7 separate regions of the Homo sapiens genome follow, and all the other regions are linked to region 1. The links are contacts of gene promoters, found by promoter capture Hi-C in blood cells and fetal thymus (Javierre and others, 2016). All regions are on one chromosome and are shown on one strand. The core of a region is centred on a gene start or on the middle of the fragment in contact, and the rest is flanking DNA. Distances in the headings are between cores, read along the strand shown. Region 1 holds the start of CLDN1 (claudin 1). Region 2 has its middle 35 kb from the start of GMNC. Region 3 has its middle 62 kb from the start of GMNC. Region 4 has its middle 19 kb from the start of LINC02013. Region 5 holds the start of LINC02013 (long intergenic non-protein coding RNA 2013). Region 6 overlaps P3H2 (prolyl 3-hydroxylase 2). Region 7 overlaps P3H2 (prolyl 3-hydroxylase 2).

Region 1 (4,413 bases), core at 911-3,410:
CAGAGGAATAAAACTGACAGTGAGACCTCTCTGGAATTGTCCTTAGAAACCTCCACCTGCCAATTCCTTAACGTGGTACCTAAAATGCCTGACACCGTTTCCTTAAATATATTTATCTTTCCATGGAGAAATTCAATAATTATTACCAAATTTTTCATTTTATAAGTACAAATATAACCCCTGAGGGCAATGAGCAACACATAATTACTAAACTTATGGATTGGTTTTGGTGTAAAGAAGTCCTGATATGAGAACCTTCAAAAGCTGAAATAATAACACTCAAAACAACCATGCACATTGACTGAGCAAATGCCACAGGTATTCAAGGTGTTCAAACAGATTTGGAACAGGTTTAATAACTCTAAACTATATGGCTTTTGATATACACTATTAAAAGTTGTCCCTTGATAGGAGGTAGACAAAACAAGTTAAGTAAACTTGAACAATGCCAACACTTTTCACCCTTAGCATGCAATGGGGGCCAGTGGGCAGTCACGTTCATCTAGGCAAAGACTAAGGGATCTTTTCTTCAAGTGAGTTAAAGGGCATAACAGACACATGATATAAGACAATTAATGTGATTTCTCAAGGAAGATACTCCAGCCGTGAATCATTATTATCTAAGTAAATGGGAATTTAATGACTTTTCGGACAAGGAACTCGAAACCTTTAATTTAAAAAACAAAGTAAAACAATTATCCTATTATCCTTCTTCCCACCATCCTTAGAAATATGTCTCTCTATACAATCCTTTCCAGTTTTACAGGGGGTCACTGAACATCCATTACACAGAAATTTCTTTGTGGAAGATGGAAACCTAAGGAAGACCCACCTCTTCTTTCTCTCTCACTGCCTTCCACTCCCAGCTGACCTCTGATTTCATCAGCTATGACTATTTTGCTGCATTTCCCTTCAGTGCCTTTACTTTTTTCTTTGTATTATGTTGCGCAGGTTATTTAGAACCTTTCTTGTCAGCCTTTCCCCACCTGCCACCAACCTTCTCTTTCCAAGATAGCACTACACCGTCAGCCTCTACAGAAGACCTTGGGTCTGAAAATTAAAACTTCGGGGGAATCTCAAGCAGCTTCTCCAAAGAGTCTTGCAAGGGGCCTCCCTGCACTAACTGGATCTTATAAATTAAAAGAATCAACCTCAAGCATAAGCAGAAGACACTTAGATAGGACATTTCCAGTAGGAATGTAACTTTTACTATGAAAAAATCATATTAAAGGTTAAAAAGTTATATCTAATACTTGAGGATTATTTATTTAAGCGTGCACACTTGAGAAGTTACCAGGCTTCAAACTTTTTCAGTCATCCCATTTTCTTGTCTGAACTCTACCAATCCTCAATTTACCCCAAATCTCGGAATGCCTAGGAGAGGTCTAAGAGCTCAAGTTCAAGTTTGGCCTTCACTCCCTCAACTCGAACCACCAGCATAGGAATTTAGGATGAAGCCACACCTAGAGTGGCAGAAGTGTCACCCAGGGAGTTAGAGGCAAAACTAGAGCTTATGCCTGGGCGTCGCTTTCCTCAAACCAGGATTCTCTTCATTTCCTTATGACAGAGCACATGATCAGAAGACTTGATCAACTGAAGACTGATAACCATGGAATCACACAACAGAATGAGCCCATAAGGGAGCTGCAGGGGGACTGGGGCCTCTGGACGGCCGCTGTGAGGTGGGGGTGCACTCACTGCTCAGATTCAGCAAGGAGTCAAAGACTTTGCACTGGATCTGCCCGGTGCTCTGCGACACGCAGGACATCCACAGCCCCTCGTACATGGCCTGGGCGGTCACGATGTTGTCGCCGGCATAGGAGTAAATCCTCCACTGGGGCAGGGCAGTGCTGACGATGGCGCCGATCCATCCCAGGAAGGCGAGAATGAAGCCCAACAGCTGCAGCCCCGCGTTGGCCATGACTCGCTCGGGCGCCCGCGCTGGCTCAGGGGTGGCAGGTGCAGAAGGCGGAGAGTTTGCAGGTGGGCAACCCGGACTCCCGAAGGTGGCTGGGCCCCGCGGAGGAAGTTAAGGCGGGGAGCCCTGCTCGCTGCGCCGCCGCTGGAGAAGCTCTGGGTCGGGGTTGGGGTCCGCGCCCGGGGCGGCGCTGGAGTCTGGATACTAGAAGCTGCGGTTGCTCCCAGGCTCGGGAACTGAGACGCAGAACCGCTGGGCGCCGCGATTTAAAGCAGCTCCGCCCGCCTCAGCCCCGGCAGCCGGGGAGCGCCCCCTGGCGGTTTCAGGGCGGCTCACCGAGAGGGCGCCGGGAGCGCCCGGTTGGGGAACGCGCGGCTGGCGGCGTGGGGACCACCCGGCAGGACCAGGCACCAGAGCTGCGTCCCTGCTCGCTTTCTCTCGTGGATCTTCTCGCTCCTGTAAGGCGTTTCACGCTTTTCATTCATTCACTCCAATTATCCAAAAATTACTATGCACTGTACTTGTAAATCCTAACACAAAGATGAAAAAATGATCCTTCAAGAGCTGCAGTTTTAGGTTTAATACTTTTTTCCCAATATCTTATTAAAAGGCATTTCTACCCAACTCCGCGTCTCCTCCCCCATCACACCATTTCTCTCTCCTTTGCTTGGCTTCCTCCCCCTTCTTTCCTCTCTCTGCTCTCTTCTGTCAAGGTCGTTCCATCACTTGTCTCTGCAAGGAGCCTCAGAGACTTTTACACTCTACAGATTGGGAAACAGACCCAGAGAGCAACATGATTTACACACACACACACACACACACACAGACACACTCACGCACGGAGCATATCCAGTACTTGGCTCCCCTCCCAATCTGCTTTCCACTACATATCAAGTTGACCCAAAATATCCCCTTTGATCTATGATTGTCCTTTTTGATGTATTATTGTCCTTATGAAACTGCAGGCTAGCAGCCCTTCCCCGCCAAACACCAACCTCCTCCCCACAGCAGTTATGTCTTAGAGCAGCAATTCATTATCAGAGGGACCTGGCCAGTGCCCCGCTCTCCCTGAAAGGTGTTAATTTTGTGAGTTATCAAATGTTGTTCGTCGCAGGTGAGGACATGTAAACAGCGTTTCCCCAGTGGCAAAAGGACTGGGCTGGAGTTGAGGAAGTCTGGGCTCTGGTTCCAGCTTTTACTGTGACTGGCTATCTCACCCCTCCGGTTTCGGTCTCGCTGGGACTGTAGTTTCCCTCTATGTTTCTCCAAAGCTTCCTTCTTTGTAGTTAGTCAGAAGTGCTGTTGTGGTTAGGAATCATTGAAATGTTTTTCCAACTGCTTTTTGTGTGTGGTGCGAGTGTGGTGGGAGGGGAAGCTTCTATGGTTTTAGTAAAAACAGAAGCATCTTGGAAGCAGAAATAAACATATTAAGGATAAAATAAGATATACCCTTATATACCATGGCAACTGCTAGTTGGTGACAGAGAAGGAAAGGTGCAAATTCTCAAGGTGGGAATGGGAAGAAAGGCCAAGCCCCACCACCTTCATTTCCACCTGGCTCTCCCTGGATGCCTTTCATGTAGGCTTAAAACTAAAGGACTTGGCCGTGCTAGGATTTAGGGACAAGCAATGAAGAATGTAAGACAGGAGCTAGATGAAGACAATTAATTTGGACTGAGATTAACACAGTGAATACTGTCTTTCTCCTATCAGCTGTTTAGGACAAGACCATGTTCGTGTTGTATCCCAGGGTTAGGGCCTGCAGTCAGTACTACTGTCTAGGTCTCAGTGGATGTTCTGTGGGTGCCTGTCAGTGTGGATGAAGATGTATCAATCACATTTGATTTTGTAAAAATTCCCTGATCAGAGAAGGCACTGGAATTTGCTGCAGGACTAGAGCAGTACCATGTGAATCATATAATCTCATTTTCTTCTTTTTTTTGTTCCAAACATTTAAGAATTAAAAGTATTATTAAACACCCGGGCACGGTGGCTCAGGCCAGGCGCAGTGGCTCACGCCTGTAATCCCAACACTTTGGGAGGCTGAGGCAGGCGGATCACTTGAGATCAGGAGTTCGAGATCAGCCTGGCCAACATGGTGAAACCCCGTCTCTACTAACAATATGAAAATTAGCCGGGCATGGTGGTGGGCGCCTGTAATTCCAGCTACTTGGGAGGCTGAGGTAGGAGAATTGCTTGAACCCGGGAGGCGGAGGTGGCAGTGAGCCCAGATCGTGCCACTGCACTCCAGCCTGGGCAACAGACCAAGACCCCATCTCAACAAATAAATAAATAAATAAATAAACAAATAAATGACATTTTCTGCGTTCAGTAAATATATTTGTGCACAGGCCCTTTTACTCTGCATTACAACTGGTTTCTATCAACCTACAATTAGCGGGGAATCGGAGGGATGAGTTCTGTGGTCAGCAGGGTCCCGTGTTTTTGTTTTGTATTTCAGGTCTGTGCGAGGCTGATTACTTCACTACCCACAA
Region 2 (4,413 bases), core at 1,374-3,873, 510 kb after region 1:
TCACTTAGTTACCACACGCTTTGGGTACATCCTTCTTGGTCAAGAAGGCCAGGTACCAGTCAGCTTGCTGAGCCTCTCTAGTGTCCAGGCTATGCTCATTGTAAGCTGCTTCAAGCTGCAGAGAGTGCCAGACACAGATTTCTTTAATCCTACCATCAGTAGGTCTAAATTCATTGCAACTAATACAATACTTGTTTCTCTAACCATGCCAACATTTTCTTGACATCGTGTATGACCTCCTGTTATTTCTCAACAAAAGCTGGCAAGCACAACCTGGCTGGGGAAGTAAAACAGCCCAGCGGGCCACAAACTGCTGCTGAGTGCATCCATGCTTAAATGAACAGCACATTCCAAAGAGATCCAGAGAAGCTCAACTCAGAAGAAAAAATAAAAAGAATGCAAAATCCCTTACAGGAGAGAGTAATCCTCTAGGCCACTAGACTTCCATATTTATATTTCCTACATTGAAAACCAGAGTGACGTCTACTAAAAAATCCTTGACCATTCCTATTGTACTACCATGCTTTGAAATGTCATTCTCACCTTTCCCCATCAGAATTTACCCTCACAAAAAGAATCACAAATGTCCTCTTGATGGAACAAGTCTCTAAAATCTTTGAAGTCTCTGCCAGCAACACCAAAAGAGGAAGCAGCCTGCCATATGTGTGAGTAAGTTTAGTTACAGCTCAGCTTGGGCTGAAATCGCACTGGGAAGACTGCTACATAGGATCAGGTTGGTGCAAAATTAATTGCGATTTTTGCAATTAAAAGTAATGTGTGAGGAAAGGTGGAGTTTGTTTAATTTCAAACACTTTAACTTTTCCTTTATGATTGCCGTGAAAACTTGGTATTTTAAACCCATTTTTCCATTCTATATCAAACTTTTCTATGAGCACAAGGTGAGGTTTTTGTTTGCTTCTAAAATATCAGATTTTCCTTGAATTCTTCTCTGACAGAATGGTGCAAGGAATATTAATGGAAAGAAAGTCCATTGACACGAACACGTTAGATGCCCCACAGTCTTTTAAGACATAGTTGTGGAACAGTACTCTTTCTAATCACTATCGTGAGACCGAGGGAGAAAGATGAATAATATCAAGAACTTCCCTGCTCTCAAGGAACTCACACTCTAGTGAAAGTGATAGACATTAAACAAATTGATCACTACATAATGTAGGAATTGCTGTTAAGAAAATGTGCAAGGTTTTGTGGGAGAGAAAAACATGAGAATCTAGTGTAATTTGAGTGTCATAAATAAAAAGACATAAGGAATTTTGGAGGAAAAGGTCGTGTCCAGTTGCAATCTATAAAAAAAGTAAGTCTAAAAACTAAAACTGCCATATGGCATTATTAATACATTTATGTATGAGTATAACATCCACATATTTCTGAATAAAACTAGCTTAGGAGAGGATCGGGAAAAATAACTAGTGGGTACTAGGCTTATTATCTGGGTGATGAAATAATTCGCACCACAAATCCCTATGACACACGTCTACCTTGGTAACAAACCTGCACATGTGCCCCTGAATGTAAAATTAAAGTTTTTTTTTAAAGACTATTGTTCAAAGAAAAGCTAGTTTAAAAGAGGATGTAGTTTAATGTGTTTAGATTTAGTGTTCTGAAGGATCAGAGGCTCTTCTTGCTGTTTACTGAGCTACCAAAGAATAACTACTGACAATTCTCCTCAAGTCTGCAGAGGCCAAGGTGTTATTTTAAATTTTAATCTCTCCTGGTATTCTTCACTGTATTTAGCACAGACTTCAACATAGAGTAGGTATTAACAAATATCTGAATGATAGTGAGGACCAGTTACAAATGCTTGCACAAAGCTAGGAAAATAAGTTTAAAAATCAGAAGTGACATAAGTTGGCTCAGATGAAAAAGGATTAATCTATGAACTGATGATAAGGCTTGAAAAGGAACTTTTCTTGAAAACTAATTCCTGGATCTGAGCATTCACATTTTCTTGCATTCTGTAGCCAGAGAAGGAAAACTTGGGTATCTGGCCCTTGTTCCTTTCGTGAATACAAAACACTCACAGAGGTCTGCAATGAGTATTAATATAGGGGAAGTTAAGGCTTTGAGTGAAATGTTAAAATATGATGTTTATAATAAAATGTTCTCACTAAAGGACAATGGATTTAAACATATAAAATACTATGAGTCATAAGGCATTCATAAGCATGATAAAATGATAAATGATATTATTGCAAGCTTCATCTGGAAAACTAGGTCTGTAGCTGTGCACTTTGGTCACATAACTTAATTTTCAAAGTTGAAGCTTGTTCATCTTGAATTGAAACTTCTAACATTTGAATTGTTTTCATACATCACTTTTTACATGCAGTTCTTCACTTAATTCTTGCAGCAATGCTTATGACAGATTTTTACTAACCTCATTTATGGATACAGAAAATGAAGACTCAGACTGTTTACTTGTTCAAGTTCATCTAAACAGAAAAAATGACAAAGACAGCACTCAAATTTTTGTCTTCTGATTCTAAATTTCATTCACATCCCAGTATATCATACATCTTCTGAATATCAGTTATATTGAATATATTTGAAAGTGTTTGCTAAATGGCGATATGTTGTATACATAAGAGGGACTATGTAATCACTGAAAATCCATTTCATAATTAATTAGTGTATTGATTTTTCCTTTAGCAGTCCTTTTCTAAATGCCAATAAATGTTTTCATCACTAACCAAGGTACTAGAGGAATATGAGGAACTGCTTACAAGTGCCTCCTTATTTCACTGTTACATTTGATTGCACCCATTTGAATAAAAGTAGATCACTGTACACCGGTGTGCACTGACCTGGTTAATATACATGTAAATGACAGCTTTTTCAATGGAGTCGTTTAAAGATAAGCAGCAAATATTTATATTCCTTTAAAGTATTGTTCCAAAAACGACAGCAGCAATTCACAGAAATAAGGCAGTTATTTGAGTTTAAAGCTTTGTTTTATTACCTGGACTGCATATAACTATAAGTTCACTCTTTGATGTATTTGCAATACTACAGAGTCTATTGAAGAACTCCGAGGGAAGGTGTTTGTTTGCATATGGGCAGTAAAACTTTTCTATCCAATAAAATCTGACACGGAACTTTTAAGTAACAAGCACACTGTTGATTAGGTTGGTTTGATTTTCTAATGATTACCAGCCCTATATTTGGACTAAACTCTAAAGTGTATTTAATGGTTAAAAATGATCTGAATTAGCCGTCTATGTTGAAATTAAACAGCATTATTTTACAATTGAGGTAGTCAGTCTCAGAAAAGAAATATTTAATTATTTAGTATCAAATGTAAAGTGGTTACTTCTAGCTCTTTGCTTATACACTTTGCTTGCCAGCCTAATTTATTAAGCACTTTCACAGATATTTTTCCATAAAAGTACATTACATGCCTATTTAGATAGATTAAATTATATAAAACTGAGAATATTAGACCATATTTGTCTTATATAAATTTTAAATGGTTCAACTTGATAGATAATCCTGCTAATGGGAGATCTGAAATGCACTCTTCCCTTTTCTACATTTAATCAAATCAATGTTCCCGTATTTTCAGGTGTCCTTATCAAACTGTTATACGACCTCATCCCTCTAACCAATTCATGCAACAAAAAATATTTTTTGAAGGGAGATTGTGCTGAGATGACAACATCAATTTCCAATAAATGTAGTAATGGATAATGATATAGAAGACTCTACCCTACAAGATTAAGTATAATAGATAAAAATTCCAAATTATAAAAGACAAAGATACATTCAAATAGTTACTTAGATTTCATTAAAATACAGTATTTTGGTCAGATTATCAGCAGTATTGTGAACCCCCAAAGACACTGACAGTCAAAAAAATAAGCTTAGAGATGCTTAGAAGATATTACTAATTAGTAGTATTGAGTTTAGTATTTGCCTTTTTAATGTCTTGTCATATTTAATTTTATTTATTTCATTTTCAAAAGCTATGTTGAAGTTGGCAATATTTCTCATCTCTGCAATGATTATTTTCCTCCTGTGACTATATTATTCATATTTTATGAGGCTCTAGCTTGGCCTAAGTAAGTTAGATCCCGAAGAATTCCAATCTTGATAGAGCAATTTTTCTGCCCTTTGCCGATCTTATTTCTGGCAGCATGGGGCTATTTCATCTTAGATAGATCAGTCTTAGTATAATGGGTAATGTTCATGAACTAAAATGGAAGTCACTGGACCAGGGCTGGAAAAGATGATCCATGACCAGACCGTTCTGACCTTCCGGAGTACTGTCTGCTGACCTACTTGGCAAGTTGAATTCACTCTTCTCATTCATGCATAGCTGCGGCCACTTAAACATTAAAGAGTTGGAACTCATTTCCTTCTCATTTTTTGACCTGAGTCAAAACTCTGTTGTTA
Region 3 (4,413 bases), core at 1,132-3,631, 480 kb after region 1:
ACACAGAATGTTATAACACTGCAGCTGTGGTGTATAAACTACTGTTATCCTAAGTAGAAAGACTAAATGATGAGCCAATCAAAAATAATAACTACAACAACTTTTCAAGACATAGTACAATATAATAGAAATAGAAAAACACAAAGTTAAACAGCATGGGGAAAAAGTTAAGGCAAGTTTTTATTTTCTTTTTGCTTGTTTGTTTATGCAAATTGTGTAAATTTGTTATGTCCAAATAATGGGTTATAAGATAGTATTTGCAAGCCTCACAGTAACCTCAGAACAAAAACACAATAAATACAAAAAAATAAAAATAAAAAGCAAGATACTAAAATCATATCACCAGAGAAAATCGTCTTTGCTAGAGGAGTGAAAGAAAGAAGGAAGAGAAGAACACAAAATGACCAGAAAACAAATAACAAATGGCAGAATTAAGTCTTTACTTATCAATAATAACATTAAATGTAAATGGACTAAAGGCTCCAACAAAAAGACATAGACTAGTTCAGTGAATGAAAGAACACAACTAATTGATCCATTGCCTACAAGAAACATACTTCACCTATACAGACACACATAGACTGAAAATAAAGGGATGGAAAGAGATATTCCATGCCAATGGAAACCAAAAAAGAGCTAAAATTGCTATACTTATGTCAGCCGAAATAGATTTCAACACAAAAACAATAAGAAGAGACAAAGGTCACTGATATGGTTTGGATTTGTGTCTCCGTCCAAATCTCATGTTGAATTGGAAGAAGGCCTGGTGGGAGGTGATTGGATCATGGAGGTGGATATCCCCCTTGCTGTTCACATGATAGTGAGTTAGTTCTCTTGAGGTCTGATGGTTTAAAAGTGTTTGGCACTTCCCCCTTTGCTGGCTGTCTCTCACGCCACCATGTGAAGAAGGTACTTGTTTCCCCTTCCCCTTCTGCCATGATTTTAAGTTTCCTGAGGTCTCCCAGTCATGCTTCCTGCTAAGCCTGTGGAAGTGTGAGTTAATTAAGCCTCTTTTCTTCATAATTTTTCCAATCTCAGGTAGTTCCTTATAGCAGTGTGCAAATGGCCTAATACAGTCCTATATAATGATAAAAGGGTCAATGCAGCAAAAGGATGTAACAATTTTGAGTATATATGAACCCAACACTAGAGCACTCACAGAAATAAAACAAATATTTTTAGAGCTAGAGAAAGAGAGGCTCCAATACAATAACAGCTGAAGACTTCAACACCTCACTTTCAGCATTGGACATATCTTCCTGACGAAAATCAACAAAGAAACATTAGACTTAATCTGCAATATAGACCAATTGGATCAAATAGATATTTACAGAACATTTCATTCAACGGCTTCAGAAAACACATTCTTCTCCTCAGCATCTTAATCATTTTCAAGTGATATGGTTTGGCTCTGTCCCCACCCAAATCTCAACTTGAATTATATCTCCCAGAATTCCCATGTGTTGTGGGAGGGACCCAGGGGGAGGTAATTGAATCATGGGGGCTGGTCTTTCCCGTGCTATTCTCATGATAGTGAATAAGTCTCATGAGATCCGACAGGTTTATCAGGGGTTTCCTCATTTTTCTCTTGCAGCCTTCGTGTAAGAAGTGTTTTTTGCCTCCCGCCGTGATTCTGAGGCTTCCCTAGCCGTGTGGAACTGTAAGTCCAGTTAAACCTCTTTTTCTTCCCAGTCTCAGGTATGTCTTTATCAGCAGTGTGAAAATGGACTCATACAGTAAATTGGTACCAGTAGAGTGGGGCATTGCTGAAAAGATACTTGAAAATGTGGAAGCGACTTTGGAACTGGGTAACAGGCAGAAGTTGGAAAAATGAGGAAACCCCTGATAAATCTGTCGGATCTCATGAGACTTATTCACTATCATGAGAATAGCACGGGAAAGACCAGCCCCCATGATTCAATTACCACCCCCTGGGTCCCAGTCAAAAGTTTGCTGCAGGCGCAGGGCCCTGATGGAGAACCTCTGCTAGGGCAGTTTGGAAAGGAAATGTGGGATTGTAGCTCCCACACAGAGTGTCTACTGGAGCACTGCCTAGTGGAGCTGTGAGAAGAGGGCCACTATTCTCCAGACCCCAAAATGGTAGATCCACCTACAGCTTGCACCGTGCACTTGGAAAAGCTGCAGACACTCAATGCCAGCCCATGAAAGCAGCTGGGAGGGAGGCTGTACCCTGCAAGGCCACAGAGGCGGAGCTTCCCAAGGCCATGGGAACCTACCTCTTGCATCAGCATGACCTGGATGTGAGACATGGAGTCAAAGGAGATCATTTTGGAGCTTTAAGATTTGACTGCCCTGATGGGTTTCAGACTTGCATGGGCCCTGGAACCCCTTTCTTTTGCTCAATTTCTCCCATTTCAAATGAATGTATTTACCCAATACCTGTACACCCATTGTATCTAGGAAGTAACTAACTAACCTGCTTTTGATTTTACAGGCTCATAGGTGGAAGGGACTTGCCTTGTCTCAGATGAGACTTTGGACTGTGGACTTTTGAGTTAATGCTGAAATGAGTTAATACTTTGGGGGACTGTTGGAAAGGCATGATTGGTTTTGAAATGTGAGGATACGAGTTTGGAGGGGCCAGCGGCAGAATGATATGGTTTGGCTGTGTCCTCACCCAAATCTCAACTTGAATTGTATCTCCCAGAATTCCCACGTGTTGTGGGAGGAGCCCAGGGAGAGGTAATTGAATCATGGTGGCCAGTCTTTCCCATGGTATCTTCATGATACTGGATAGGTGTCATGAGATCTGATGGGTTTATCAGGGATTTCTGCTTTTGCTTCTTCCTCATTTTTCTCTTGCTGCTGCTATGTAAGAAGCTCCATTTTGGCTGGGCACAGTGGCTCATGCCTGTAATCCCGGCACTTTGGGAGGCTGAGGAGGGTGGATCACCTGAGGTCAGGAGTTTGAGACCAGCTTGGTCAACATGGTGAAACCTCGTCTCTAATTTAAAAAATACAAAAATTTAGCCAGGCATGGTGGCATGTGCCTGTAATCCCAGCTACTCGGGAGGCTGAGACAGAAGAATAACTTGAACCCGGAAGGCATAGTTTGCAGTGAGCTGAGATCATGCCATTGCACTCCAGTCCAGGTAACAGAATAAGATTCTGTCTCAAAAAAAAACAAAAACAAAAAAAAGTGCCTTTTGCCTCACACCATGATTCTGAGGTCTCTCCAGCCATGTGGAACTCTAAGTCCAATTAAACCTCTTTTTCTTCCCAGTCTCAGGTACGTCTTTACCAGCATCATGCAAACAGACTAATACACAAAGGATAGACCAGATGTTAGGTCACAAAACAAGTCTTAAAACATTCAAAACAATTGAAATAATATCCAGCATCTTCTATGACCACAATGGAATAAAACTAGAAATTAATAACAAGAGGAATTTAGGAAACTATGCAAGTACATGGAAATTAAACATTACATTTCTGAATGACTAGTGGGTCAACAAAGAAATAAAAAAGGAAATTTAAAAAATGTAAACAAATGATAATGGAAACACAACATGCCAACATCTATGTGATACAGCAAAAGCAGTACTAAGAAGGAAGTTTATAGCTATAGGTCTACATCAAAAAAGAGGAAAAACTTCAAGTAAACAACCTAATAATACATCTTAAATAACTAGAAATGCAAGAGCAAACTGAACCCCAAATTAGAAGAAAAGAAATATTATAATAAAGATCAGAGCAGAGATAAATGAAATTGAAATAAAAAATACAAAAGATAAAACAAAAAGTTGATTTTTTGAAAAGTTAAACAAAATTGACAAAAGATTACCCAGACTAACTAGAAAAAAAGGAGAGTAGGGGAGAGAATATTCAAATAAAGTCAGAAATAAAAAAGGAGACATTACAACTGATACTGCAGAAATTCAAAGGATTACTAGTGGCTACTATGAGCAAATATATGCCAATAAATTGGAAAATCTAGAAGAAATGGACAAATTCTTAGATACCTACAATCTATGAAGATTGAACCGGGAAGAAATCCAAAATCAGAACTGACCAATAACAAGTAATGAGATCAAAGCCAATAATAAAATTATCTCAGTAAAGAAAAGCCCAGGACCTGATTTCTTCACTGCTGAATTACACCTAACATTTTAAAAAGCACAAATAGCAATCCTACTCAAACTATTTCAACAAATAGAGGAGAAGGAATACTTCCAAACTTCCACTTGAGCGGATGATACCCCATTCCCCATGATGTGATTATTTCACATTGCATACCTGTATCAAAACATCTCATGTGGCCCATAAATATATACACCTACTATGTACTCACAAAAATTTTAAAAATTTTTTTGAAAACTTTATTAAGTATTTAAATTCACATTTCTGCCATCAGATACTCTCTCTCTCTCTTTCTCTCTCTCTCCTTCCTCC
Region 4 (4,413 bases), core at 1,362-3,861, 400 kb after region 1:
AACATTCTCTTGGTTGACGAGATCATGAAAGCTATTAATAGAATGTCTTCTCTGAAAGGTTAAGTTGAAGCTTCGCTGTATCTGAGTCTTGAGACTCTGCAAAGTGATCCTGAGGAATGTAGCTGTGGAATTTTTGTCCAAGCTTCAAATGGTTTTCAAAGGAATTTTCTTTTCCCATATGAAAAAAGGAGAGAACACTGGTACCTAGTGAAATTTTGAAGTTCTGAAATTACAATTACAGTATTTTTTTAATTGCACTGAAGTAAAAACCCATAAAGCAGGTCCATGTGTGTCTTTTACCCAGTGAGCAGGATGTTTTGCTTCAGCTGCAGTGACATAAAAATCCATGTTAGAAAAGCATATGTTATCTACCTTATTATTAAATATTTCTTGAAAAACAAATTTTAATGGTTTAATAATTTCTTATGAAGATGTTTGTTAAATTATCCAACAGTGTCCTATTGTCAAGTATTTAGGTTTAAAAAAAGTTTTATGCTAATATAAATAACACTTCTGTAATTTAAGATTTTGAAAGCATCCCTGTTGGTATAAATTTCTATTTGTAAACTTATTGGATCAGTTGGACTTTTGCTGCTTTTGAAATAGCTTTGCTACAATACTCCCCCCAAAACGTTAAGCTGTAGCAAATGGGAAGAAGAATAAACTAGAGGCAAAGGGAGTTGAGAGAGCTGCAAGGGACAAGTGGCAAAAATAGAAGAGGCAGAGGTAAAAAGATGATGGAAGGCATGGTGACTAAGGGCTAGGGTTACTGGGTGAAATATGAGATTAATAGCTGACCATATTTTCAAGCGTCTGAACTTTTTGCTTGTGCAACATATCCATCCCAAATGCTCTAGTGCCATATTTTTCTCACCCAAATTACTGTTCTCTCCTACATATTTCCACAAGATTGTTTATATACAGTTGGTCTGTTTCTGTAGTCTTTGGAGACGAAATTGTGTGATACTAAGCTGTGTGGTTTGAGGGTTTAGCAGTTATCTGCAATGAATATGTAATAAATATTAAGTTGAATCCTCAAAACAAAAAATAAAATGTGTTGTTTAGTATGTAGCCACCTTTACCAGCTATCTGAGCGAGATCTTTTGGATAACTTGCTGCAACTTCTATATCAGCACTTGCTGCCTTACCTTGCACTTTCATGTTATGAAAATGACTTCTTTGCTTAAATCTCATGAACCAAAAATTTGCCAGCTTCTGACTTTTCTTCTTTAGCCTCCTCACCTCAGTTTGTAGTGTCTTGTGGATCATAGTACGGTCTTGCTTTGGATTAGGCTTTGGTTTAAGGGAATGTTGTGACTTGTTTGATACTCTATCCAGACCTCTCTAACTTTCTCCATACCAGCAATAACGCAGATTTACTTTTTTATTTGTGTGTTCACTGGAATGGCACTTTTAATAGCCTTCAGTAATTTCTCCTTTGCAATCATAATTTGGCTGCTGGGAGCAAAAGACTTAGCTTTGGGCCTATTTCAGCTTTCAACATGTCTTCCCCTCATGTAATCGTTTCTATTTTTTGGTTGAAAGTGAGAGGCACGTGATTCTTCCATTCATGTGAACACTTAGAGGCCATTTTAGGGTTATTGTTTGGCTCTATTTGATTTGATTTTTTTAAATTTATTTATTTTTGAGGCAGAGTCTCACTCTATCACCCAGGCTGGAGTGCAGTGGTGCGATCTTGGCTCGCTGCAACTTCCGCCTCCCAGGTTCAAGCGATTCTCCTGCCTCAGCCTCCTGAGTAGCTGGGACCATACCAAGCTAATTTTTGTATTTTTAGTAGAGATACGGTTTTGCCACGTTGGCCAGACTGCTCTCAAACTCCTGACCTCAAGTGATCCGCCCACCTCAGCCTCCCAAAGTGGTGGGATGACAGGCATGAGCCACAGTGCCTGGCCTGGCTCAATTTGAATATTGGGATGTCTCAGGGAATAGGGAGGCTGAAGTGGAAGGAAAGAGATAAGAGAATGGCCAGTTGGTGGAGCAGTCAGAACACACACAGCATTTATCGACTACTTCAGTCTTATATGGGTGTGGTTCATGGTGCCCCAAAACAAAAACACCAAAGATCACTGATCACAGATCACCGTAATAGATATCATGATTATGAAAAAGTTTGATATATTGCTAGAGTCACCAATATGTGACACAGAAACAAGAAATTGAACACCTGCTGTTGGAAGAATGGCGCTGATGCAGAGAGCCTTCCTTGTTCCACACAGAGTTGTTACAAACTTTCAATTTGTAAAAAACACAGCATCTGCCAAGCACAATAAAGTGAAATGAAATAAAACAAGATGTGCCTCTTCTGCCAAAAACTGCAAAATTTTTCAAAAATTTAAAGTGAATCTTAAAATGTATACTTTTTTATTTTTGTTAATAAAAACTTCCTTGAGTAGGCTCAGATTTGTCGTCATAAGAATATTTTTGTTTTGATTTCATTCCAACATTGAAATTAAACTGTTTCCTAAGAATACCAGCTGCTATGAGGGATTCGTGATCTGAAAGTACCACAGAAAGCAAAGAACAGAAAATGAAAACATGGTGATTAAATGTCCATTGGATGAGTCATATGATGGTTATCCTGAAAGAACCTGAAAATGAAACATCCCTAAAACTATGAGAAGCAAAAAAAAAGTGCTGTCTAAATATACACTTGCCAGTAAATGCGTGTAAGGGCAGATTCCAGCGTGGGCATAAACCAATATTAAATTAATAACCACAAAAGAAGCTCTATTGATTAGCCTATTGCCTCACCTGTAATGCCAGTACTTAAATCTGAATGCAAACACTAATGAACAGGTTTAGGTTGTACTTTACAGTGATTGACAGCACTACGGGAAGTCAGATGCCAATGTTTTCTCATTGTAATATGTTAAGAACCTTTTTCCCTCCCAGAATCACCATGCAAAGCTATCCTCCAGGAAAATCACAGGTGGATCTAGATCCATCACATTTTAACTACAACTGTAGTTATAGTTAAACAGTGATTTAATATTTTACAAAATCTCAAAGATGTTGACTACTAATAATATGTTACTAATTATATTTTTGGAGAAATCTCACTGTTGAAACTAGGACTAAACCAAATTATAAGAACGTAAGAAAGACATGCCACATAACACTAATAAGCAATGAGTCTTTTTCCACAGATTCTTTTTATTTTATTTTTTATTTTTTTATTTTTTTATTTTTTTTTACACAATTCTCTCTAAAGGACACTTGTTGGATAGCAGATGGAGGTTGTATGGCATTGACCTCAAAGGTTAATGATGTATCTTTAAGTATTCATTACACAACTTTAACAATTCCTTACACAGTGAAACATTTTAGAGTTTTCAAAGGGCTTTCACTTTGACTGCTGATTATATTGTGAAGGATTGAATAATGTACAAAGTGTCTCAAGCGTATGTTTTTCTTCACAGCATAATCCTGACATGTTTAAATATGCTATAAAAGTATATTGGATGAATTAATGAATTTGGTCCACACAACAAACTATGTTAGGCATACATAGAAGAATTATTATACAATTTTACATGCTAGAAACAGTTCTAGTGATTTGCTAGGATGTCTTAACTATAGATAAAAGCCTGAGAAGGAATAAAGAAGTGAAATAGCCAATAAAAATCTATAGACATGGAAATTTTCAAAGAACACATACATTTATTTCAACACTGTTATTATACTTATCAGAAATGATCAACAAAATATAGTAGACAAATGGAAGCCTCAAATCAGGATTCATGTTTTCTCAGTTTTTAGATTTTACTATTTGTACCTTGTGATGTAACTTAGTTTGTTGTTTGTTTGTTTGTTTTTATCCACAGGGGCCAACATCACTAACTTTTTTTGGTATTCGCTTTGAGGATTTATCTTTATCTTTTAAGGGTTAAGGAAGATAATATTTGAATCTTTCTTAAACCCGTTTACGTCTTAAGTAAAGTAACATTTCCTCTGAGTCTTAGATAAATGGGTTTGAATGCCAGTTTTAAAATTGGGTGAAGAGTGTTTCAAATCTAGAAAACCATGTGAGCAAAGCCCTGATGTGAGAAACTTCTGAGGATATGTAGGGAAAGTAAGTTTGGTAGATTCATGAAATACATGAAAAGGAAAGGGTTCATGTGTGAGGATTACATTATGAAGCACCTTGGATACCAAACAGAGCACGTTGTCCCATGGACGGTAGGAAGCTATAGACGGTTACTTAGCAGAAGAGTTTCAGTGTAGGTCACTGTTTCCTTTTTAATAATAATGAGTTCATAGCCATATCTCTGCTATAGTGTGATCACTCTGGTGATAATAACAGAAAAGTAGGGTGTGTGTGTGTGTGTGTGTGTTGGAAGACAGGATTAGAGTAAGAAACTGGGTAGGATTACCATCTGAGAGGCGCTATTT
Region 5 (4,413 bases), core at 1,109-3,608, 380 kb after region 1:
GACTGAAAAAGAAGGAACATAAGATAATATAGGTTGTGTGTGTGCACACGTGCACACGCACATTTATCTATCTTTCTATCTATTCAAATGCCAAGTCAAAGACTGTGAGAGTCTCTAAATGTTGGGTATCCAGTTCCTCCTACTCTCATAATTCCAACTTAAAACATCCTGTGCTTCTGGTTTAGTTTCTTTTCCTATCCACACCCCCATAGCACTTTGTTGTGATATCATAGTCTAAACTTACAACTTGTCCCTGTTATTTAAGGAATTCCCCACACACATCTGTGCATTTAGCTTAAAACAAGCTGTGGGGATTTTTGTTGGTGCGTGCTGTGTGGGTTTCCCAAATGGAGTCTTTATTTTCAACACCTACAGCTTGCTCAGTCCATTCTGATGCTGGGATGGTTTCCTTCTGTGAGTAAATGTCAGTGAAGTGCTCCAGGCAAAGCTATTGCCCTCATGAAGCTTATGAATCTGGTTTGTTCCCGGAATAGACCCCTTATGCCTACATGCAAGTAAACATTCAGATCAGGTATATTAGCTAATCCAGCTTTAGGAGATTAAAAGAATTGACTCTTGCTGCTGAAGGCTAAAGGACAAGTTTTGCCTCACATTATAATGCTTCACCCAAACCAATTATATACACATTTTTTGTGTGTGTATGTACAGGCATATAGTAGGTACAAAAAAATGTGTGTATATAATCTTATTCTACAAAAGTTCATGGGATCTACTATGAACCAGGAACTATGCTAGGAGTAAGCAGAAAAATACATAAATGTAAATGAGACATACAAACTTGTGAGGGTGATAGGACATACCCAATAAACATGATAACCAAAGACACAGTAAGGTAAATAAGAACCAGTGAAGAGTTACGGGTTTCTAATACCATAGCAGATGTAAAATCCTTTTAAACTCTGAAGCACTCTAACATGTAAGTTGGAGATGATCAGGCTATCCTTGGGTAACAAGTGGGTCAATATTTGGCTTTGGGGCCATTATCTCTTTCATTCTATGTTCTTTTTTATTCTGTGTACCTGGGGAGGTAAGGTTTGCTTTCAGGAGTCATCAGAATCTATTTCACTGCCAGTGTTTCATCATACGCTTTTTGGAGAGTCAATTTCCTTCTGAGGAGAGTAGTTTCACCAGCTAGCATACTGAACGTCAAAGCGTGGTACCTTCCTGTATTCGTACATCCCAGTATTATCTTTCTTCTTTGAAATTACACAAAAACATACATATAATTATATATATAATAAAATAAATATAATTAAGCACATATAATAATACATTTTTCTCAAGAGAACTCTTTCATGGAAACATAGTAAGAAAAGCAAATTACCTTAGTTGAATCGGAGGAAGTGCCAGAGCCTGCCTTACTCAGCCCTCTTTCTGCTACCCTCACTTCTCTGGGTAAACTCTGTGAAGCCATAATCTCGTAACCTGGTTTAAAACAACTCTATTATATAGCTTTTAAAACACTTCAAATTTTGGCATTCGTGAATCTGAGACTGATAATGCCCGTGTGACCCTATGTCTTTAGCTGCTCAAGCTTACAATCGATGGTAGAATCAATCTTGTGGCAGAGTTCCCAGCCTCCTAGGCTCCTCTTCGCGTAATGCTCTACCTACTCCCCTAATTCTCCAGTTTTGGCAACTGAAACCCTGCATATGGCCTGCTTCAGATCTCTGGTGTGGAAATGTATGAGATATCAAGTACTTTTAGCCCCTGAGTTTTCCCTGGACTTGGTTGAGCCTTCACCTCTGGCTCCCTGGTCGTGGATACTACGCTGAATTAGAAAATCCTGCCGGTTTTTCCCTAGTGACCCAGTCTCAACAACTAACTTGCATGACCAGTACATGAGCTGGGACTTCTCTAGCTCTCTGGCAGAAAGTATTTACACTAAAATCTTTGACAAAGTGTACTTCTCCTAAGAGTGCGGTTTTTTTTTTTTTTTTAACCATAACACGGAAGAAAACCTTAGGTTAATTTCTGACCTGCACAGCCTCAAACTAAAGCATGCCAGAATTGCAGGAGGATACGAAGAAAACAGAAAATTGCAGTACCTGAAATCTAACAGCTACCACCTTTACTGAGCTGAATGTACTAGAATTACCAGGGAACAGCTAGAAAGAAAAAATAATAATAATTCAGGAAAGGAAAAATGTGTGTTTTTGACCCTATTTCTTTTTGATGCAGGCTGTGTGTGGAAAAGAGCTTGAAAAGAATTTTATCTTGCTCCACCTCGTGGTGGATGCCTGCAACATAATAATTCTTATGCAGTTTCTTCCAAAACAAAAACAAAAACAGAAACAAAGACAAACAAAAAAAAAATCACTGTGGATCTCTTTGCATGTCTTAAATAAAAATTTTCTGAAATTGAAAATTGAATTGCAATTCTTTTGCAACTGTATACTTATAGCATAAGAATGGAGACATCTCAGGCATTCAGTACAGCAGAAAACTATATTAGAAATTATAGTTTAAAAATAATTTTTAAGACATTCTTGCAGTGAATATCAACAATTTTTTGGTACATGAGGAGCTTCTGCCCCTGTAGGAATAAGTATGTCTGAAACATGAAAGAAAGAAAGAAAGAGAAGATAAAAGGAAGGAAGGAAAGAAAAGAACAGAAGGAAGGAAGGAAGGAAGGAAGGAAGGAAGGAAATTAATTTTTAGAAATAACCAGGGGCTGATTTATGTGCAATATGATTTTTTTCAGAGTTCATAAAGGGGAATGTGTGCTCCCCTACTCTCTAATTCCTGACATTTTTAAATGGTTAATACGGGTCTTTTATTTAAATGATGTTCTTTTTTATTGGCACATGTGGGTCAATTTTCTCCTTTTCTGTTTTACTCAAACCAAAAGCTGCACTCTCGGCAATTTGTCCCTTACAGAAGAGGCTGTTTCTTGTTACAACAGTACCGTGCTGTGCTTCAGCCATCCATAACACGCCCACTGTATGTAGTCTCATAGGAGGCATTGCAGGTCCAGTGTCTAGCCAGAAATGAGAAGCAGAGATTGTTATTTTTTTTTTGAGGTGTGACTCACCCACAACCTTCTCAATTCCAACTAGTTTTGTTTTGTTTTCCTGTAACCTAGTTTTAAATATATTTCCAAATCAGAGGCTGCCCTCAAAATGTAACCCTTCACCAACAGAAGCTTGTCTGGGAAGATTCTGCAGAAACTCCTCTCAGATTTGAAAAAATAATGGATTGGAAAATCATGTTTTGGCCAGGGTTCAGCAAAGAAAGTTAGGAACTGGCTACCAACATCACAAGAAACAATACTATATATAAAGGTATTGGTGTATTGAGATAGCTTATATTATTATTCTAGGTAAGGTCATCTAGGGGAATCATATGCCTGCATTTCGGTTCTCTTTTGAGGTACTTACCCTGGGCAATAGGAAGTATGAGAGGGGTTACAGAGATCCTCTTCCTTGGGCAGGAACACGTTTACAGCCATGATAGACACTCACTGTGAGGAACATCAGGTGGTGTGCGTGTGTGTGTGTAGGAGAGGTTGATACTTGAAATAAACCTCCTGAACCATGCTAAGAAGTCCAAAGTATGATAACAAGTGTGGATTTATCCAGATGACATTGGAGTAACACTACAGTGTTTTAAGCAGGGAAATTACATGATCACATTTATATTTTATAACTATAGTAAAGCTTCCATGTGTAGAATAAACTGGAGGAAAGCATACTGAAAGGATGAAGACCATCTAGAAACATATTCAAAAGTCTAGGCAAATGATGGTGATATGCCTAGCCTAGTAGGATTATGGATATTGAAATTGACTGTATTCTAGAGATATTGAGGATAGAGAAACAACAAGACTTGGAAATAGCTTGGGTATCTCCATGATGATAAACAATAATTTGGAAAATACGGTCTTGTTTTAAGTCTTACTGTGAACACATGCAGCTATTTGCCTGTGGATTTGTGTTTTTCTGACTGTAGGAGCATATTGGGTCTACACTCAAGGAAAACTAGAAGTGCAATAGTTATTGCCCCAGAAACAACCCTCAACAAATAACATAAAGGAAGATGACAGATCAATATTTCACTTTCCTCTCACTCGATAATATACCCATAAACTCTGTCCCACTAGAGTTCTAGGGTTCCCCAGAAAGATTTAGCTCCAGTTACCAATAGTGGTACATGACTTCATAATGCCCCCTGCGCTAGAATTCTTCCATTTCCTATTTTACTTCTCCACTTCCTCCCTACTCCCCTACCAGCATTTCTTGGGAAAACTTGAATATTTGTCTTACTGTCTGTTTTGGATAAAAACAAATGATGAAAACTTTCACTACAAAGGGATGATATTGGGGTGGAAATGAAGAATTCACATTTGAGAAAGATGAGATCAAGATACTCTATTCAGGTTGTTGTAGTTTA
Region 6 (4,413 bases), core at 712-3,211, 320 kb before region 1:
AGAACTACCATAAGATCCAGCAATCTCACTGCTGGGTATATATCCAAAGGAAATGAAGTCAGTATGTTGAAGCTATATCTGTACTCCCATGTTTATTGTAGCACTATTCACAATAGCCAGGACATGAAATCAACCTAAGTGCCCATCAGCAGATGAATGGATAAAGAAAATGTGGTACATATACACAATGAAATATTATTCAGCCATAAAAAATAATGAAATCCCATCATTTGCAACAACATGGATGAATCTGGAGGATATTATGTTAAGTGAAATAAGCCAGACACAGAAGGACAAATACCACATGATCTCATTCTTATATGGAATCTGAAACAGTTGATCTCATAGAAGTAGAGTGGAACGGTGATTGCCAGAGGCTGGAAAATGTAGGAAAGGGAGAGACAGGAAGAGGTTGGTCAAAGAGTACAAAGTTATAGTTAAAGAAGAAGAATAATTTCTGGTGTTCTATTGCACAGTAGGATAACAATAGCTAACAATTATGTATTGTATATTTCAGAATAGCTAGAAGAAAGCATTTTTAATGATGTCACCAACATAAATGATAAGTGTTTTAGGCAACAGATTTGCTGATTACCCTGATTTAATCATCATACAATGAATACACATATGGAAACATCACACTGTACCCGTAATTATGTATACTTATTATGTGTCAATTAAAAATAAGACAAAACTTTTAAAAAAATTAAAAGGATAAATTATTCCAATGCATAAAGATGCTAAGAACAGCACATAAAATGCTTTACCACACAGCTTTGAGATATTTGATTCCAAACTTACAACTTTGATTCTCATTAATAAAAAAGAATTTTGAACCACCACTACACAGACACTGCCAACTGTCTCCTAAACCACTTAATACAATGATCTCCATGTAACAAGCAATGATATATTTTTAAAAAATGGAATTAATTTACCCATTTTAACACATTTTTAAAATTATTTTTGAGACGGAGTCTTGCTCTGTTGCCAGGCTGGAGTGCAATGGCGCGATCTTGGCTCACTGCAATCTCTGCCTCCAGGGTTCAAGCGATTCTCCTGCCTCAGCCTCCGAAGTAGCTGGGACTATGGGCACACACCACCATGCCCGGCTAATTTTTGTATTTTTAGTAGAGATGGGGTTTCACCATGTTGGCCAGGATGGTCTCGATCTCCTGACCTTGTGATCCGCCCACTTCACATATTTACATATGCTTTAGTCATGGAGAATTTCAATAGAGAGATCCATTTACCTCACATCAGAAAAATAAAAATTCACATTAGTTATCGTTTTCATGGTGGAATCTAAAATATGCTCAATCCATTTTAGTGTGAAGAAATGAAAACTAATTGTTGCTGAACAATATAAAATCACAGAATGGCATGTAAGATTCAACTGTATCTGCTTTTGACCATTTTGCCACTCAATTATTAAAAACTAGAAGTAGTAGACTCACAAGTGCCCAGTCCCTGCAGTCTTGTGAAATATAATCAACTCTTAACACAAAAACATAAACTGCCCTGTTTTAAGACCTAACATCCCATAATAGTAAAGCTTTCCCTTTTCAAATGTAATTGCACATTTTTAGCTACTGTCTTTCCTTCCATTAAATCTTGCCTGAAATGAGCTCTTCCTGCCACTTTTACCTTTGTCCTCAATTCTGTGCACTCAGAATTATTTTGACTGTCAAAATCACTAATTTTGGATTTCATCTTTCTCAACTTTAATCTTCTCAATCTCTTACATATCAATACAGATAAATATGAATTGTATGCATCTACATAGTAATAACTATATAGGTATAAAGAATGGGTTCAAAATTATGTGTGGTTTGCATTTATTGGCCAAGTGAACCTGGAAAAAGTTGTTTAAACACTGGTGCTTTAATTTTCCCTAAAGAAAAAATGCTCAAAAGAACTATACACCATCATTTACTGTGGAGGATTTTGGAAGGATTCAACTGTGAAATACATATGAATGTGTTCAGCAGTCACTAGAGCACTAGAAAAAGATAAATAATAGCATACAATATATAAATGATCTGTTTCAAGGAGGTGAATCTGCTCCCATTAATGAAGAGTAGAGTTTATAGCTCCCATGAACACATAATATAAGAGGATAGAGTAGGTGCTTCTGGTTGGTGAAAATTTTCTCTGGGCAATAGCCAGTCTACAAGCTATGAGTACAACAGATTAGTACTGACATACTCTGATTCTACAGCACTAGACGTTAAAGTTAATGGAACACAAATAAATATTTATGTTCTTAATTTTCCTACTTTATGCTTTGGCTCAGGATATTCCACTGACTTAGAGAATCTTTGTCCCTCTGTCTTTTCTTACTGAAATATGTCATGTCCTATAAGGCCAAGCTTAAATCCTGCCTTCTCTAAGAGACCCTTTCCCATTCCTGTAGCCATAGTTGGGTACCACAATATACTCTCAACCTGTTCCTTTACTGGTACTTACCATTCTGTACCTTATATATGCATCAGTATATCTGCTTCTCCCATTAGAGCTTTCTGTGGACATGGATCATATGGTATATTAATCTTTTTATTTTCTACCTATTTACATACAGAGTATATCTATGCTATGTCTTAGAAAAGAGAAAAAAACTTGTAAGAAGTAACTTGTAATAAGTTCAAAGGTATATTACATGTGAATATGCTTCATGAATTATAAGGCAGTGGTCCCCAGTCTTTTTGGCACCAGGGTCCAGTTTCATGGAAGACAATTTTTCCATGGATGGGTTGCAGGGATAGTTTCAGAATTAAACTGTTCCACCTAAGATCATCACGCAAGATTCTCATAAGGAGCACACAACCTAGATCCCTCACTTGCACACTTCACCAGAGGGTTGGCACTCCTATGAGAACCTAAGACCTCCACTGATCTGACAGGAGACAGAGCTCAGGTGGTAAGGTTCACCTTCTGCTGTGCAGCCCCGCTCCTAACAGGACTGTACTGATCCATGGCCCAGGGGTTGGGGACCCCTCCTATAAGGTACTAAAAGTTTGTACATTTAATAAAAACTTCTCTGAAATCATCATTCATACTGAGAGCTTCCAATGTGGTTATCACGATGAATGTGATTCCGTAGCTCTTGAAAACAGTCAATGTCAACAAACTGGGTCCTTTTCTCAAATTTGACGTTTTGCTTATTTGGTGCTTTCCTCCTTTATAGTCCAGAATTGAAGATACTACAATCTATAAAAAAAGATTCCATGACTAAAGGCTGAACCATAAAACTTCATGAACTGGCCCTGGCTTTTAAATTATTGTGAACCAGTTTAGGAAACTAGAATTTGCTGCCAGGGTCTATAAAATAAACCACTGTTTTAACTGGAAGCTTGATACCTCTGTCTTCCATTGTATAAATACACACATCCAAAGTGGTAAGAAAAGTCCACATAAACATGTGCATGCTACATATAATGTCATATGATTGGATGGAGGTTATTACAAGGCATAGTCAGTACTAGGTTTCAGCTAAGGAAGGACCTACCCACTCCTCCAATGAAACAAACCAACAGCACACTACAGTTAAAGGCTCCAAACTGGACTTCCTTTAAGACCTAATTAAAACAAACCACAGGAGCGAGTAAGTCTAATATGGGGGTAACTCTATGCATTAGAAAAATAAACTGTGAAATAAAGAACAATGGAGAAAAGGGGAATAATCTGACATGAAGATGGTATTGACGTTTAGGGGAGGCCACTGAGATGTCAGAAATACTGGTAAAAATGCCTTCAAGAAGCTTAGGGCCATTTCCTCTCAAGCTGTGAAGAACTAAGGCAAACATTTTCTCTTGCCAGCCCAGAAGCATGACTACGTGGTAGTCATACTGTATGGACAAAGAAATGAACATTGACTAAATCAACAGCCTGCTGACGTTCAGAAGTTACACTGTCCTTGAACCTGTGAGTGAATGAGGTTCCTCTGACACAGAAAGAGTTTTCCATAGCTAGTAATAAAGGACGGATTGCTAAAGCACACATTGACTATTCAAAAATCTCCAGTAGTCATCCATTGACTAGAAAACAGATTTCAGACACTCCACATCATGACATTCAAGAACTCTGGGATTTGGCTCTGTTTTTCCTGGCATCACTTCTTCCTCTCTGCCATTATACCAACTCTTTCCAGAGAAACTGAACTTCTCTAAGTTTTAAAACTTACCACCCGCCTATTCAAGAACACACACATAGGTCCAATTCTCCAGTCATGCCCCAGTTCATTAGTTCACCCATTTACTTATTCAGCAAATATTTATTTTGCACCAACTCTGTATCAGACACTAAACAGAATACCTACGTGGTCAAGACAGACAAAGGCCCTCCTTTCTATAACAAATGTTGACATTCTCATAGAAGGGGACAAATCCCAAGTAAATAAATAAGTAAGGAAAG
Region 7 (4,413 bases), core at 884-3,383, 290 kb before region 1:
CAGTCGCTTGCTCACCTGCCGCTCACCTCCTGCTGTGTGGCCCAGTTCCTAATGGGCCACAGACTTGTACGGGTCCGTGACCTGGGGGTTGTGGACTCCTGATTTAACTGAATTAGTAATATTGTGGTGTTTTCTCTTTTCAAAATAACCAGAATATATACCTTTATTAAAATTAATATTGGAAATTTAGAAAAATATAGAGAGAAATCTGTGAAAGAAAATAAAATATCTAGAACCAACTGGGTACTTTTCTCATACTCCTTGAGAGAAAATTATCTATTATTTTTAAACATTTTTGTCATTTATGACTGCAAAAAGAAAACTTATGATTTTTTTCTTTCAGTAATCTCATGTTTAGTACATGTCTATTTCTTTATGAGCTCAGGATCCATTCTGTATTGTTTGGCCGTAGCATTTCAATCTTCATTTGCAAACCATACGGCCTTCATTCCATTTGGATGTGGCTGGTCCTGTAAACTTGGCTGTAAAAGTCCCAAAAGAAGTAACTATTCTTACCAAGTTATCTGTACCTGGTTTTGCTGCCTTTTAATCCCCATGATTTAAGCTATTTGCAAGAGACTGCTGAAGACCTCCTATCCTAAAATCCCATGTTGTTGTTTATTTTTCCAACAAAAAATGGATGATATTCATATCCTATTGCTCAGGGTAAGACAATCTCCTCTTTTCAACAATTTTGTTATTTTACCGCCAAATATTTAATAAACAGAAATTTGCGTACAGTGGTTTTCTTGGCAACCAGGGAAGCTTATATTTTCTGCTTTTAGATATTTACTTTCCTAACATGGGTTTTGCTACAATTTCAAGCTCACGTTACAGAATACTTTCGTAAACAATATTCAGACGGAACACGATGTTATAAAAAAAGATTTAATGTAGTTATTGTGGCAAGATAAGACTCAACATGATATAAAGACATCTAAAAATGTGCATAGACCTCTTTTATAAATAATCCTGTCCAAAGGACTAGATAAAGGGATAGTTGAAATAATCACATATGAATAATTGTTCCTCATAAACTCTGTCAAAAGTCAGGTTTAGTAATGAGAGAGACACCTAAAAAAGATGACAGCTGGACTTGCACTTTTGGTGGTAGTACTTTCTCTAGGCATATTAGGTATAATCTTTAAGCGACAGAATTTGAACAATAATTTGTCTCACTATTTGGACATTGAGTTTCACAATAAACACAATAATTCAGAAGTTTCTGCAGTATTGCACAGTTTCAGATATGTAAAAAACATAGGAAAATAATAACATACTCTCCATGTGATTTTGGTCACCCATAAAACAGAAAGAAGCCAGAAACAAAATGATTCATATTGTTTGATCCCATTAATAGACTTTTGCAATAGGCAAAACTTGAGGAAGAAAGAACAAACAAATGGTTGTCACAGATTGGGAAGGAGGGAGGGGTTGATTATAAAAGGGCTGCATGAGGGAATTTTGGGTGGTGACGTAACTGCTCTGTATCTTAGTTTCTGTGTGGTGGTCAACATGACTGAATTTGTTGATGGGAATCGATCTATACATCAAAAATGGGAATTCTGCTGTATGTTTATTTAAATTACATTAAATAATTTCAAATATTTAAAAATATCTGGCCAAATCGCTTTTTCTTTTCTTTTCTTTTCTTTTTTTTTTTTTGAGACGGCATTTCACTCTGTTGCCCAGGCAGGAGTGCAGTGGTGTGATCTCGGCTCACTGCAACTTCTGCCTCCCAGATTCAAGCGATTCTCCTGCCTCGGCCTCCTGAGTCGCTGGGATTACAGGCATGTACCACCACACCCGACTAATTTTTGTATTATTATTAGAGACAGTGTTTCACCGTATTGGTCTGGCTGGTCTCACACTCCTGACCTCAAGTGATCTGCTTGCCTCAGCATCCTGAAGTGCTGAGATTACAGGTGTAAGCCACCGCATCTGCCCCCAAATGGCTATTTTTTTCTTTTCTTTTTTTTGGTTTTTTTGTTTGTAATTGCTTCCTTGGCAACTAGGAATAGTTCATAAAACAAAAGCTTTTATATCAGAAGACCAGAGTTTAAATATTGGCTCCCACATTATTTGCTGCATAACTTTACAAAAATATTTTAACTTCTCTGGTTCATTCTATTTAATAGGTATTAGAGGATACCTGATACCCAACCTGCCTCAGTATATTTGACAATTGAGTTAGTCTATATAAAATCCTATTAAAATGTTATGTGAATATAAAGCTTATTAAAGAGATATTTAAAAGTTTTAAATTCTTAAAGATTAAACAGTCTTAAATCCTTCATTTTTTTTTCTCTTGTAAACCCTTGAATAAATTTCTCAGGACATCTCTTTGTCACTCCCTTTTAATCTACCAGCTATGATGTATATAGCAATTTTCTGTCACCCATTAATAATCTTATGCGTTTTATTTTTTACTTTTGCTCTTTTATTGATACTGTTATCATGTCCTTTGCCTTAATTTACACTAAAGGACAGCAGGATGGGAGTATTGCACTATTGATAACTCAAAATAATCTCCATTTAAACAAAAGGCAAAAGGCTAAATACCTTCTGTTGGGCTTTAGGCTGCTTGGGGGATTTAAAGCAAACCCAGATCTTATACCGGAATGTCTTATTAGAGTTTTTCCTTCAACATGTGCTTCTAATTAGCAGTAATATTTGGAGTGGGGGCAGGGGACAAAGGGTACATACAGGTTATGTTATCAATTGTTAAGTTACTTAGTTTAAATTCTACACAGTAAGCTGCAGTGAAGGGTCCCTGGAAACCATTTGTTAGTTGGATGAATATTTCTGACCAGTTATTTTATTCAATTGCAAGAATTGTCTCTACTTCTGCACCATTTGGTTTCCCATTTTGCCATATTCAGAATGAAATTTTTTCTTCTGAAAGTCTCAGTTGCCACCACCATCTCCTTCCCACTTCTGTTGTTCTCTAAAATGAAGTCACAGTTTGTCTCCCTTTTTTGTATAACCACATCACTCTGCCTTTTCTCCCAAACTTTCTCATTTTTCAGTTAGTCTCAAATTTCTGATTTGAGAATTTTGCTCTTACCTAATGATGCATTCCACATATTTCTTGTGTCTCCAAAGGAATGGTAAATCATACATATAGACTTCATACATGTTTGAATAAATACAACAGTATTGAAAGCCCATCAAAAGGAAGTCCAAGGGAGTGATCAAATTATTTTGCACCTTAGAATTTTGTGCAAATGACTATGCCTTAATAATTAATAACATCTAAACTGGTATATCACTTTATAGTCGACATGATAATTTCATTCTTAACGTAATCTTGTGAGATTATTATTTAAAATCTCCATTTTAAAAAAAATTAACATTGAGTCTTAAAGGAATTATGACTTGCTTAAGATTGCATGATGGCAAGACAGAAATTAAAACTCATAATCTAATGTCAAATCACATTCATTTCCACTTTTCTTTTTCTCCCTCAGTCTCACTCACTGAGTCTACCTTTGACTTCAATTATAAGGAAACAGAATTAGTTCCCCCAAGTTCCCTCTGTAGAATCTGACAAAGACCAGGGACACCCTCTGCTCTGCCCTTGAGCGATGATCCCTTCTCCTCCACTGTGATGTAAACCAGGCAGCAGCCATGGTACATGAGATACTTACACTGATTCATTTAACAACAAAGGCCTCCAAAGGCATGGAAAAACTGAATCATCATTCTTTGAGAAACTATGTTGGCAACGTTGGAAAGATAAAAATATATATATATATTTACTTGGTAATAGAATAAAATTTTCAATTAACAACAACAACAAAATAGTATCATGGATTGGCACATGCAGAAGCCCAAACAATAGTAATAATGTTTATGTCTGCAAATATTTTATAGTTTATTCTGGCCAATCATATAGCTCATCTCATTTGACACTTAGGAGTGAAGGGATTATCTGCCCATTTCATATATTAAAAAAACATTGTGGTTGGATAACTTGAGATCATATAGCTGGAAAGGAGAGCATTAAGGTGTATAATTTATACCTTTTCAACTTAATTCTAGAATTCTGACACTGCCTTCCCTAAAAGGAGAAGCAAATTATAAGTAAAAATCTATATTAATGATTCTTAACATTACTGGATCATTACTTTTAGAATCTAGTATAAGCTCTAGATTTCTCCCCAGAAAGATGATCACATCTACACAATTTTATGTGCTTCATAGATCCCTAAGCTTCAGGAAAAATATGGACCCTAGGGAAGAATCATTGCTCTGGATAGAGTCTGCAGAAGAAAATAAGATACCGTGGCTCAGATTTTAGCAAATAGTTTGACTTAGTTACCTGAATCAATTCTTGTCCCTTGATGTCAACACGTCAATCTGTCACATCTATTCACCTTATTAGCATGACTCTCTGTTTTCTTTTTACAA

What was found. The method cuts DNA at HindIII sites, captures the fragments that hold promoters and counts their contacts. A CHiCAGO score of 5 or more calls a contact.
Region 2: a fragment that was not itself captured here is called in contact with the fragment with the promoter of CLDN1 in region 1 in 1 of 17 cell types (neutrophils); the score reaches 6.2 in neutrophils.
Region 3: a fragment that was not itself captured here is called in contact with the fragment with the promoter of CLDN1 in region 1 in 1 of 17 cell types (neutrophils); the score reaches 8.7 in neutrophils.
Region 4: a fragment that was not itself captured here is called in contact with the fragment with the promoter of CLDN1 in region 1 in 1 of 17 cell types (neutrophils); the score reaches 7.3 in neutrophils.
Region 5: a fragment that was not itself captured here is called in contact with the fragment with the promoter of CLDN1 in region 1 in 2 of 17 cell types (M2 macrophages and neutrophils); the score reaches 6.1 in M2 macrophages.
Region 6: a fragment that was not itself captured here is called in contact with the fragment with the promoter of CLDN1 in region 1 in 1 of 17 cell types (endothelial precursors); the score reaches 5.3 in endothelial precursors.
Region 7: a fragment that was not itself captured here is called in contact with the fragment with the promoter of CLDN1 in region 1 in 1 of 17 cell types (megakaryocytes); the score reaches 5.1 in megakaryocytes.

What each region holds. Positions count from the first base shown.
Region 1 is chr3:190,320,286-190,324,698 of GRCh38, forward strand. It overlaps CLDN1 (claudin 1), which reads right to left and starts at 2,161. Exons shown (of 4, transcript NM_021101.5): 1 at 1,699-2,161. The coding sequence starts at 1,921. It also overlaps a transcript of CLDN16 not described here. RefSeq lists a silencer at 2,152-2,311. The HindIII fragment of the contact is 3,794 bases long and covers 1-3,187 here.
Region 2 is chr3:190,825,949-190,830,361 of GRCh38, forward strand. No RefSeq gene overlaps it. Among named protein-coding and RNA genes, the nearest start is that of GMNC, 35 kb to the right of the region's middle. The HindIII fragment of the contact is 682 bases long and covers 2,283-2,964 here.
Region 3 is chr3:190,798,802-190,803,214 of GRCh38, forward strand. No RefSeq gene overlaps it. Among named protein-coding and RNA genes, the nearest start is that of GMNC, 62 kb to the right of the region's middle. The HindIII fragment of the contact is 6,927 bases long and covers 1-4,413 here.
Region 4 is chr3:190,716,337-190,720,749 of GRCh38, forward strand. It overlaps the pseudogene CCT6P4. Among named protein-coding and RNA genes, the nearest start is that of LINC02013, 19 kb to the left of the region's middle. The HindIII fragment of the contact is 4,943 bases long and covers 141-4,413 here.
Region 5 is chr3:190,695,150-190,699,562 of GRCh38, forward strand. LINC02013 (long intergenic non-protein coding RNA 2013) reads right to left here and starts at 4,165. Exons shown (of 2, transcript NR_183762.1): 1 at 3,402-4,165; 2 at 2,796-3,001. The HindIII fragment of the contact is 1,611 bases long and covers 1,554-3,164 here.
Region 6 is chr3:189,996,073-190,000,485 of GRCh38, forward strand. All of the region lies in intron 1 of P3H2 (prolyl 3-hydroxylase 2), which reads right to left. Among named protein-coding and RNA genes, the nearest start is that of P3H2, 120 kb to the right of the region's middle. The HindIII fragment of the contact is 817 bases long and covers 1,554-2,370 here.
Region 7 is chr3:190,033,202-190,037,614 of GRCh38, forward strand. The region is part of intron 1 of P3H2 (prolyl 3-hydroxylase 2); the gene reads right to left. Among named protein-coding and RNA genes, the nearest start is that of P3H2, 85 kb to the right of the region's middle. The HindIII fragment of the contact is 198 bases long and covers 2,035-2,232 here.